Linked DNA regions of Homo sapiens: region 1 is linked to region 2. The links are contacts of gene promoters, found by promoter capture Hi-C in human tissues and cell types (Jung and others, 2019). All regions are on one chromosome and are shown on one strand. Each heading gives the region's core, a stretch centred on a gene start or on the middle of the fragment in contact. The rest is flanking DNA. Distances are from core to core; before and after follow the strand shown. Region 1 overlaps LRRC36 (leucine rich repeat containing 36). Region 2 holds the start of ACD (ACD shelterin complex subunit and telomerase recruitment factor).

Region 1 (4,195 bases), core at 242-2,741, 330 kb before region 2:
CTGTAATACTTCTATAAAGAGAAATTTCCTCACATCAACTGTTTGCTTATCCTGAGGTACAGTTTGTATAGGAAAGGCAGCATAAAAGCTTGATTTGTTTTCACCTTATATGCCAGCTTTCAGAATGATGAGTTATTTTCTTAGCATTCTCCAAAGGTGACCAGTGAGGACTGTTTTGCTTTCTCAGTATCATTATAAACTCATCGATTTAAATATATGTCTTAGGGCTGGGCATGGTCGTTCACGCCTGTAATCCCAGCATTTTGGGAGGCCAAGGAGGATGGATCACCTGAGGTCAGGAGTTCAAGACCAGTCTGTCCAACATGGTGAAACCTCATCTGTACTAAAAATACAAAAAAAATTAGCCCGGCATGGTGGCAGGTGCCTATAATCCCAGCTACTCAGGAGGCTGAGGCAGGAGAATCACTTGAGCCTGGGAAGCAGAGGTTGCAGTGAACTGAGATCGCACCACTGCACTTCAGCCTGGACGAAAGACTGAGACTCAGTCTAAATAAATAAATAAATAAATAAATGTCTTAGTCCCTTTTCTCTTGTCATAACAGAATACCATAGACTAGGTAATTTATAAAGAACAGAAGTTGATTTGGCTCATGGTTCTGGAGGCTGAGAAGTCCAAGAGCATGGTGCCAACATCTGGTGAGGGTCATTCCATGGTGGAAGGGCAGAAGGTGCATGTGTGAGATGTGAGAGAGAAAGAGAGAGAGAGAGAGAGAGAGAGAGAGAGAGAGAGAGAGAGAGAAGACTGAACTAATTCCTTTATTAGGATAGCTAACTCCCGTGATAACTAACTCCATGATAACAGCATGAAGCCACCGTTGACCTAATCACCTCTTAGAGGCCCCACCTCGCAGTGCTGTTACATTGGCAATTACGTTTCAACATGAAAGCTGGGCATGGCGGCTTACACACTTTGGAAGGCCAGGGAGGAGGATGAGGCCAGGTATTTGAGACCAGCCTGGGCAACACAGCAAGATCCTGTCTCTACAAAAAATTTAAAAATTAACTGGGTGTTGGTGGTGTGTACCTGTAGTCCCAGCTACTCAGGAGGCTGAAGTGGAAGGATCCTCTGACCCCAGGAGTTTTAGGCTGCAGTGCACTATGATAGTGCTACTGCCCTCCAGCCTAGTTGACAGAGCAAGGCCCTATCTCTGAATAAATTAATACATTTCATCATGAGTTTTGGAGGGGACGTTCAAACCATAGCAATATATTTCAATGTAAGTTTTAATCCATTATAGTTCTTATCATAATTGATGTTCAGTTTATCCTAACTTTAGTTAATAGGTGATCTTTCAAGTTGACTCCTGAGGTCTTTTTAAAAAAGTTTTATGGCCAGGTGTAGTGGCTCACGCCTGTAATCCCAGCACTTTGGGAAGCCGAGGGGGGTGGATCACCTGAGGTTGGGAGTTTGAGACCAGCCTGGCCAGCATGTTGAAACCCCATCTCTACTAAAAATATAAAAATTAGCTGGGCGGGGTGGCACATGCCTGTAATCCCAGCTACTTGGGAGGCTGAGGCAGGAGAATCGCTTGAACCCTGAAGGCGGAGGTTGCAGTAAGCCAAGATCACACCATTGCACTCCAGCCTGGGCAAAGAGAGCGAAACTCCATCTCAAAAAAAAAAAGAAAAAGAAAAAGTTTTATTTATTAGAAACATTCATTGTCATTATAAATAAGCTTTGTTAAAGGTTGTTAATTCAATTTCCAAATGAGCTGTAAATGGTTTTCATTAGAGAGACTACTTGATTTGTTATTTTCAAATAGCAAATTTTTGCCCACTGGGGTTATGTAACCCATATATTAAAATTGGAAGATCATTCTTTTATTCTTGGCATCTATGCTGTGCAGTGTTTGATTTGTTCTCTGATTTGTCTTCACTCTTTATAAACACTGAAACGGCCAGGCGCGGTGGCTTACGCCTGTAATCCCAGCACTTTGGGAGGCTGAGGAGGGCGAATCACGAGGTCAGGAGATCGAGACAACCCTGGCTAACATGATGAAACCCTGTCTCTACTAAAAATACAAAAAAATTAGCTGGGCATGGTGGTGGGCGCCTGTAGTCCTAGCTACTTGGGAGGCTGAGACAGGAGAATGGCGTGAACCTGGGAGGCAGAGCTTGCAGTGTGCCAAGATGGTGCCATTGCACTCCAGCCTGGGTGACAGAGCGAGACTCCGTCTCAAAAAAAAATAATAAATAAATAAATAAACACTGAAACGAAATGCATAACCTCTTAAGACATGCATTCATGTGAATCATTAAAGAATGTTTGTCTTTGTGGCAGTTTATCATTTTAATAATTCACATTCCTTCTTAAAATGTTAAAATGTCTGCTCTTCAAAATAGACTGCAGTGAAAGGCATGAGAAATGCTGTGGGTCATTGATGGAAACCATAATTGTCCTTAGCTTTTGTCCCATGTTAACAGACTCTCAGGGTGTTAGATCATAACATACCACAGAATTACCAATACACTGCCCTCAAAGTCAGGAAAATTTTATTTATTTATTTATTTTATTTATTTATTTTTTTTTAAAAAAAACATGGTCTTATTCTGTTGCCCAAGCTGGAGTGCAGTGGCATGATCATGGCTCACTGCAGTCCCGACCTCCTGGGCTCAAGCAATCCTCCTGACTCTGCCTACTGAGTAGCTGGGACTACAGGTGTGCACCACCATGCCCAGCTAATTTTTTCTTTTTTTGTAGAGATGGGTGCATTTTAAAAAGATATAATTCACATACTATAAAGTTCACCGTTTTAGTATTTATTTATTTATTTTGAGATAAGAATCTTGCCCTATTGCCCAGGCTGCAGTGCAGTGGCCCGACCTCAGCTCACTGCAACCTCTATCCCAGGTTCAAGTGATTCTCCTGCCTCAGCATCCTGAGTAGGTGGGACTGCAGGCACGTCCCACCATACCCTGCTAATTTTTGTGTTTTTAGTAGAGACAGGGTTTCACCATGTTGGCCAGGCTGGTCTTGAACTCCTGACTTCAAGTGATCCACCTGCCTCCGCCTCCCAAAGTGCTGAAATTACAGGCATGAGCCACCACACGTAGCCCCATTTAAAAAATATACAATTCAGGGTCATTTTGTACATTTACAATGTTGTGCAAGCATCATTGCTACCTATATATAGTTCCAGAACATTTTCATCAACCCATTAGGCAGTCACACCTCATTTCCCACTACCCCTGGCTCCTGGCAACCAGTAAACTGCTTTCTGTCTCTGTGGATTTGCCTCTTCTGGGTATTTCATATCATTGGAATCATATAATATGTAGCCTTTTCTGTCTGGCTTCTTTGACTTAGCATAGTATTTTCATTATTCATTCATGTTTTAGCATGTATTAATACTTCATTCCTTTTTTAAAAAAATTAATAGACTTTATTTTTTAGAGCAGTTTTAGGTTTACAGAGAAATTGGGCATAAAGTACAGAGAGTTCTCATATACGCTTACCTTCCTTGCACCTCTCCCCACCCACCCCGTTTCCCTTAATTTTAATATCTTGCATTATTGTGATATATTACAATTTATGAACCAATATTGATGCGATTATTAACTAAAGTCCATAGTTTACATTAGAGCTCATTTTTTGTGTTGTACAGTTCTATGGTTTTTGACAATTATGTCGTGTCCACCATTATTATTATTATTTTTATTTATTTATTTTTTTGAGATGGAGTCTCACTCTGTTGCCCAGGCTGGAGTGCAGTGGCGTGGATCTCGGCTCACCGCAAGCTCTGTCTCCCAGATTCACACCATTCTCCTGCCTCAGCCTCCCGAGTAGCTGGGACTACAGGTGCCTGCCACTGTGCCCGGCTAATTTTTCATATTTTTAGTAGAGACCGGGTTTCACCATGGTCTCGATCTCCTGACCTCGTGATCCGCCCGCCTCGGCTTCCCAAAGTGCTGGGATTACAGGCGTGAGCCACCGCGCCTGGCCGTCCACCATTATTTTTTATTTTTTGAGGCAGAGTCTTGTTCTGTTGCCCAGGCTGGAATGCAGTGGCACGATCTCGGCTCACAGCAACCTCCGCCTCCTGGGTTCAAGTGATTCTCATGCCTCAGCCTCCCAAGTAGCTGGGACTGCAGGCGTGTGCCACCATGCCTGGCTGATTTTTGTATTTTTAGTAGAGACGGGGTTTCACCATGTTGGCCAGGCTGGTCTCGAACT
Region 2 (4,292 bases), core at 842-3,341:
GAGTGGGGAGCTGGGGGTACGGCTGGCGTGTGGGGACCTGGGGGTCAGGGTGGCAGGGGCTGAGCAGATGGCTGGTGAGGGCTGGGAGCTGCTTCTCTGCCCTGGGTCTGGAGCAGCCAAGGACAGGGCAGGCAGAAGGCTGATGCTGGTACCACTTTCCTCGGATGACATGTGGCCGGGTAAGGCCGGGGTTCCTGAGGAGGAGGGGACTTATTGTAGGCACAGCCCTCTCCGCTCAGGGCAGCTGAGTGGCCTGCGAGCTCAGACAGGACTGCAGGGACCGTGTTCATCCCCCACCCACCGTGCACCTTTCACAGCATCCTGCGCAGCCCGGGAACCTGACTGACAGGCGGCAGTGAGTGCCTGTGACCTGTGCATCACCTCACCTGAGGAACTGGGTGAGGAAGGAGGAGAGGCTATGAGGGTCAGAGATAGGTCCTGCAGAGCCGGGTCTGGTGGGGGCAGCTCAGGGCCTGGGGGGTTCAGGAAGTCTTATCAGCACTGTGGACCTGGGCCCCAGGTATCCCCCCAACCTCTCCAGTCCCCCTTACCCTGTGTCCTCTGACAGGGGCCTAGAGAGCTCAGAATTAGCTGGTCATTCTCAGAGATGCACAGCATTGAGCTGGGGACAGTGTACACAGCTTCTCCCTGTGGGACATGAACTCTGTAGGACAGGCCCGTTTACTCTCATGTCCTGTGGGATATGACCCTTGCCCAACTCCTCACCCTGACATCTCCCAAGCAAATCCCCAGACTGACCGTGGCCTTGCATCGTGAGGCAGCCCAGTGGGTGACAGGGGGTGCTGTGCAAGGGCCCTCCAGTGTCAGGCAGCTTTCAGCCAGGCACACGAGTGCCCCCTGATGCTCCTGGTCCTCCCGCATTTCATCCAGAAGCTGGGACAGTGATAGGCCTGGGGACAGGGGACCATGGGATGAGTCAAGGCTTAAAGGGGAGGACCAGGAGGGTGAGGGGGAAGACAGCTTATTGAGGAAGCATAAGGTTAAGGCTGGAGAGATCACTGCACAGCGTGTTAGGATCACTGGTCAAGCTCTACAGTACCTGCATTGGACGAGGTGGACTCTGAAAGGTGCTCCCTACAGGAAGAGAGTGGCCAGGACTCAGGAACCATGCTGAGGCCTGTCTACCTAGATACACCATCCCCTCACCAAACAACACGTGGCCCCCGAGCCCAACCCCAGACTCACTCAAGGCAGTCATAGAGCTTTTTCTGAACATCTAAGTCTTGGTTGCTAAGAAAAAGAGAAGGGTAGTTAATGGGGGCCCAAGCCCTCCTACCCCATAGGCGTCTGCCAGCGCCGGCCAGGCTGGGGTGGGGAGAGCTGCTGGAGGGCGGAGGCATCACTTACCAACCAGGCACCCGTAGCCGGGGCTGCTCCGTGGGCAGCAGGCTGAAGCGGTCCACCTGGAGATAGAACTCTGCGGGCTGGAGGAGTTCGGGGGGAAGGGGGGGTCTCAGAATCGTCACGAAGAGTCATGCCCGGTAACCCGCCCAAGGCAGTCTCACCACTCACCGCGCCGCCCTCAGCGACCTGGACATGAACCCCGCAGTCCTGCAGCAGCAGCAGCCGGCCCTCTGTCCCGCGGAAGCCGAACTCCTTCTCCTCCCTGCAACAAGCAGGATCCTCACTGCCGGGCCCACCTGAACACAAGGCCCGCCCACCTCGCGCTCTCCTGCCGGACTCCGACCTCCAGAGCCGCGCGGGGCCTCTCACCAGTCCGAGGTGTCCAGGGCCTCCCGCGTCACCAGGCATCGGACACTGTGGGTCCCGTCAGACACAAGCAGCGTGGCCCCGACGTCGGACGTATCAGGGGCGTGGGATGGGCCCGCGACCGCGGCCTCGGCGTCCTGTAGTACCTGACGGCGGCGAGCGGCGTCAATCCCACCACCCCGGGCCTCCGCCTCGGTCTCCGGGCCCTGAATGGGGGCTCACCTCAAGCAGCTGCCCGGCTCGTGGACTGGAGGGTGTCTCTGACCCCAGAATCAGCTCCCGAATCCAGGGCCGTAGGACCAGCCTCCCCGAACCTGCCATCCCCACGGCTACACCCAGCGGATGCAACGGGCCCGGGTTTCCCGCGGGCGCCCAGGCCCCGCCTTTCCTCGGAAGAGGAAGCTCCTTCGCTGGGCGGGGCCGGAGGAGGAGGCCCCGCCCACGTACACCCCGCGCCTGCGCACGAGGGCGTCCTGCTCGGGGGCCTGTGTGCAGACTCCCGCTGGTCCACCCCGCTGGTGCACGGGATGCTGGCCCGTTTACTCTCATCGCGGCGTCACTCTGACAGCGGCCAGGCATTTGGGCCGTTCGTCAAGATTCCTGTGGTACCGGTAGGGAACAGAACAAGGGCTGGTCCCGTCCCTGGAGAGGGTTCCAGGGCCGGAGGCTGAGGCCGAGTGCCGTCCGAGCGAGTTGACTCGAAACCATTTCAGCACCGTGTGACCCCCGAACGGTTCAGCACATATTTATTATGACTCAGTTTCCTCATCTACACAGTGCACGGTCTTGTAAGGCCAGTGGAAATAAGAGCACACACACAGCGCTAAATAAATGGTACTTCCTTCGCCCTCCCCTCGGATTGGCGGAGCCCTGCTCCCCAGACTCCGGGGGCGCGCGGACCTCAGCGTGATGACGCAAGAGCGGAGGACGGCTCCTCTCCATCCACGGCTCCGTTTCCTAGGAAACGTGGACTCCGCGTTCCACTCTGCGTCGCTGCCCCCTTGACGTCACGCTCCGGATGGGAAGGCGGGGCGTGTGCTACCGCCAGGGGCGGGGCGGCGCGGGCGGGCCGGCCGGGCTGTGCACCTGCGCCTCGGCGGGCCGCCTGGGGCACCGTCCCCGGCCCGCCCGGCCCCGCCATGGCCCGGCCGCAGAGGACTCCGGCGCGCAGTCCCGATAGCATCGTCGAGGTGAAGAGCAAAGTAAGGGCTCCTCCGGCCTCGGCCCTAGGCGCTCCCAATTCCCTCTTTCTCCCCTTCCCAGCTCCTTGGTCCCCGCCACCTCTTCCCTCTATCCTCCAAGTCCCATTCTGCTTTTCTGCTCGCCTTCCCCCATCCGTCTTCCTTCCTCCACTGCTGGTCTCCAGCTCTCTGTGGCCTGAGTACCTGGAGGGCGGTAAGAAGACCTTGGACAGCGTCCCTGGTACTGGAGCTGAGGTCTGGGCTTAAGGCTGCCGCAAAAGCGGCAGCCGCATCTTTCCCATTCCTGCCAGCCTGCGGTGAGAAAGGGGCGCAGGCTGTCCTGACTCCTCCTCTCCCCCAACCCCGACTTCCAGTTTGACGCCGAGTTCCGACGCTTCGCGCTGCCTCGCGCTTCGGTGAGCGGCTTCCAGGAGTTCTCGCGGTTGCTGCGGGCGGTGCACCAGATCCCGGGCCTGGACGTGCTACTTGGCTATACGGATGCTCATGGCGACCTGCTGCCCCTCACCAACGACGACAGCCTGCACCGGGCCCTGGCCAGCGGGCCCCCGCCACTGCGCCTACTGGTGCAGAAGCGGGGTGAGGAGGGGTACAGTGGGCAGCCTCTGTGGGGTAAGGTGTCTGTGGGGCAGGTCTACAAGGGTTAGTCCATGCCCAGGGTACCCAAGCGTCACCCTCTGCAGTCCCTGCCCTTGGCTTGACCTCTAAGTGGTAGGAAATAGCTACAGTGCCCCCTGTAAACAGCCCAAGTCGGGGAGCAGGTCTCTGATCTCAACATCCCCCCTCTTCTGCAGCAGAAGCTGACTCCAGCGGCCTGGCTTTTGCCTCCAACTCTCTGCAGCGGCGCAAGAAAGGGCTCTTGCTGCGGCCAGTGGCACCCCTGCGCACCCGGCCACCCTTGCTAATCAGCCTGCCCCAAGATTTCCGCCAGGTTTCCTCAGTCATAGACGTGGACCTACTGCCTGAGACCCACCGACGGGTGCGGCTGCACAAGCATGGTTCAGACCGCCCCCTGGGCTTCTACATCCGAGATGGCATGAGCGTGCGTGTGGCTCCCCAGGGCCTGGAGCGGGTTCCAGGAATCTTCATCTCCCGCCTGGTACGTGGGGGTCTGGCTGAGAGTACAGGGCTGCTGGCGGTCAGTGATGAGATCCTCGAGGTCAATGGCATTGAAGTAGCCGGGAAGACCTTGGACCAAGTGACGGACATGATGGTTGCCAACAGCCATAACCTCATTGTCACTGTCAAGCCCGCCAACCAGCGCAATAACGTGGTGCGAGGGGCATCTGGGCGTTTGACAGGTCCTCCCTCTGCAGGGCCTGGGCCTGCTGAGCCTGATAGTGACGATGACAGCAGTGACCT

Evidence for each region. Contacts are between HindIII fragments. The study calls those that stand out against the background at their distance.
Region 1: a contact is called between a fragment that was not itself captured here and the fragment with the promoter of ACD in region 2, in 2 of the 25 tissues and cell types used here (lymphoblastoid cells and mesendoderm cells).

The regions. Positions count from the first base shown.
Region 1 is chr16:67,330,355-67,334,549 of GRCh38, forward strand. The region is part of intron 1 of LRRC36 (leucine rich repeat containing 36); the gene reads left to right. Among named protein-coding and RNA genes, the nearest start is that of LRRC36, 5.6 kb to the left of the region's middle. The HindIII fragment of the contact is 7,189 bases long and covers 1-4,195 here.
Region 2 is chr16:67,658,169-67,662,460 of GRCh38, forward strand. ACD (ACD shelterin complex subunit and telomerase recruitment factor) reads right to left here and starts at 2,092. Exons shown (of 12, transcript NM_001082486.2): 1 at 1,954-2,092; 2 at 1,735-1,877; 3 at 1,534-1,627; 4 at 1,369-1,445; 5 at 1,207-1,251; 6 at 1,061-1,095; 7 at 760-911; 8 at 552-648; 9 at 387-473; 10 at 1-194. The coding sequence starts at 2,052. It overlaps PARD6A (par-6 family cell polarity regulator alpha), which reads left to right and starts at 2,792. Exons shown (of 3, transcript NM_001037281.2): 1 at 2,792-2,933; 2 at 3,287-3,509; 3 at 3,728-4,292. The coding sequence starts at 2,871. RefSeq lists an enhancer at 1,422-2,005 and silencers at 2,159-2,268, 2,579-3,058. The HindIII fragment of the contact is 13,160 bases long and covers 1-4,292 here.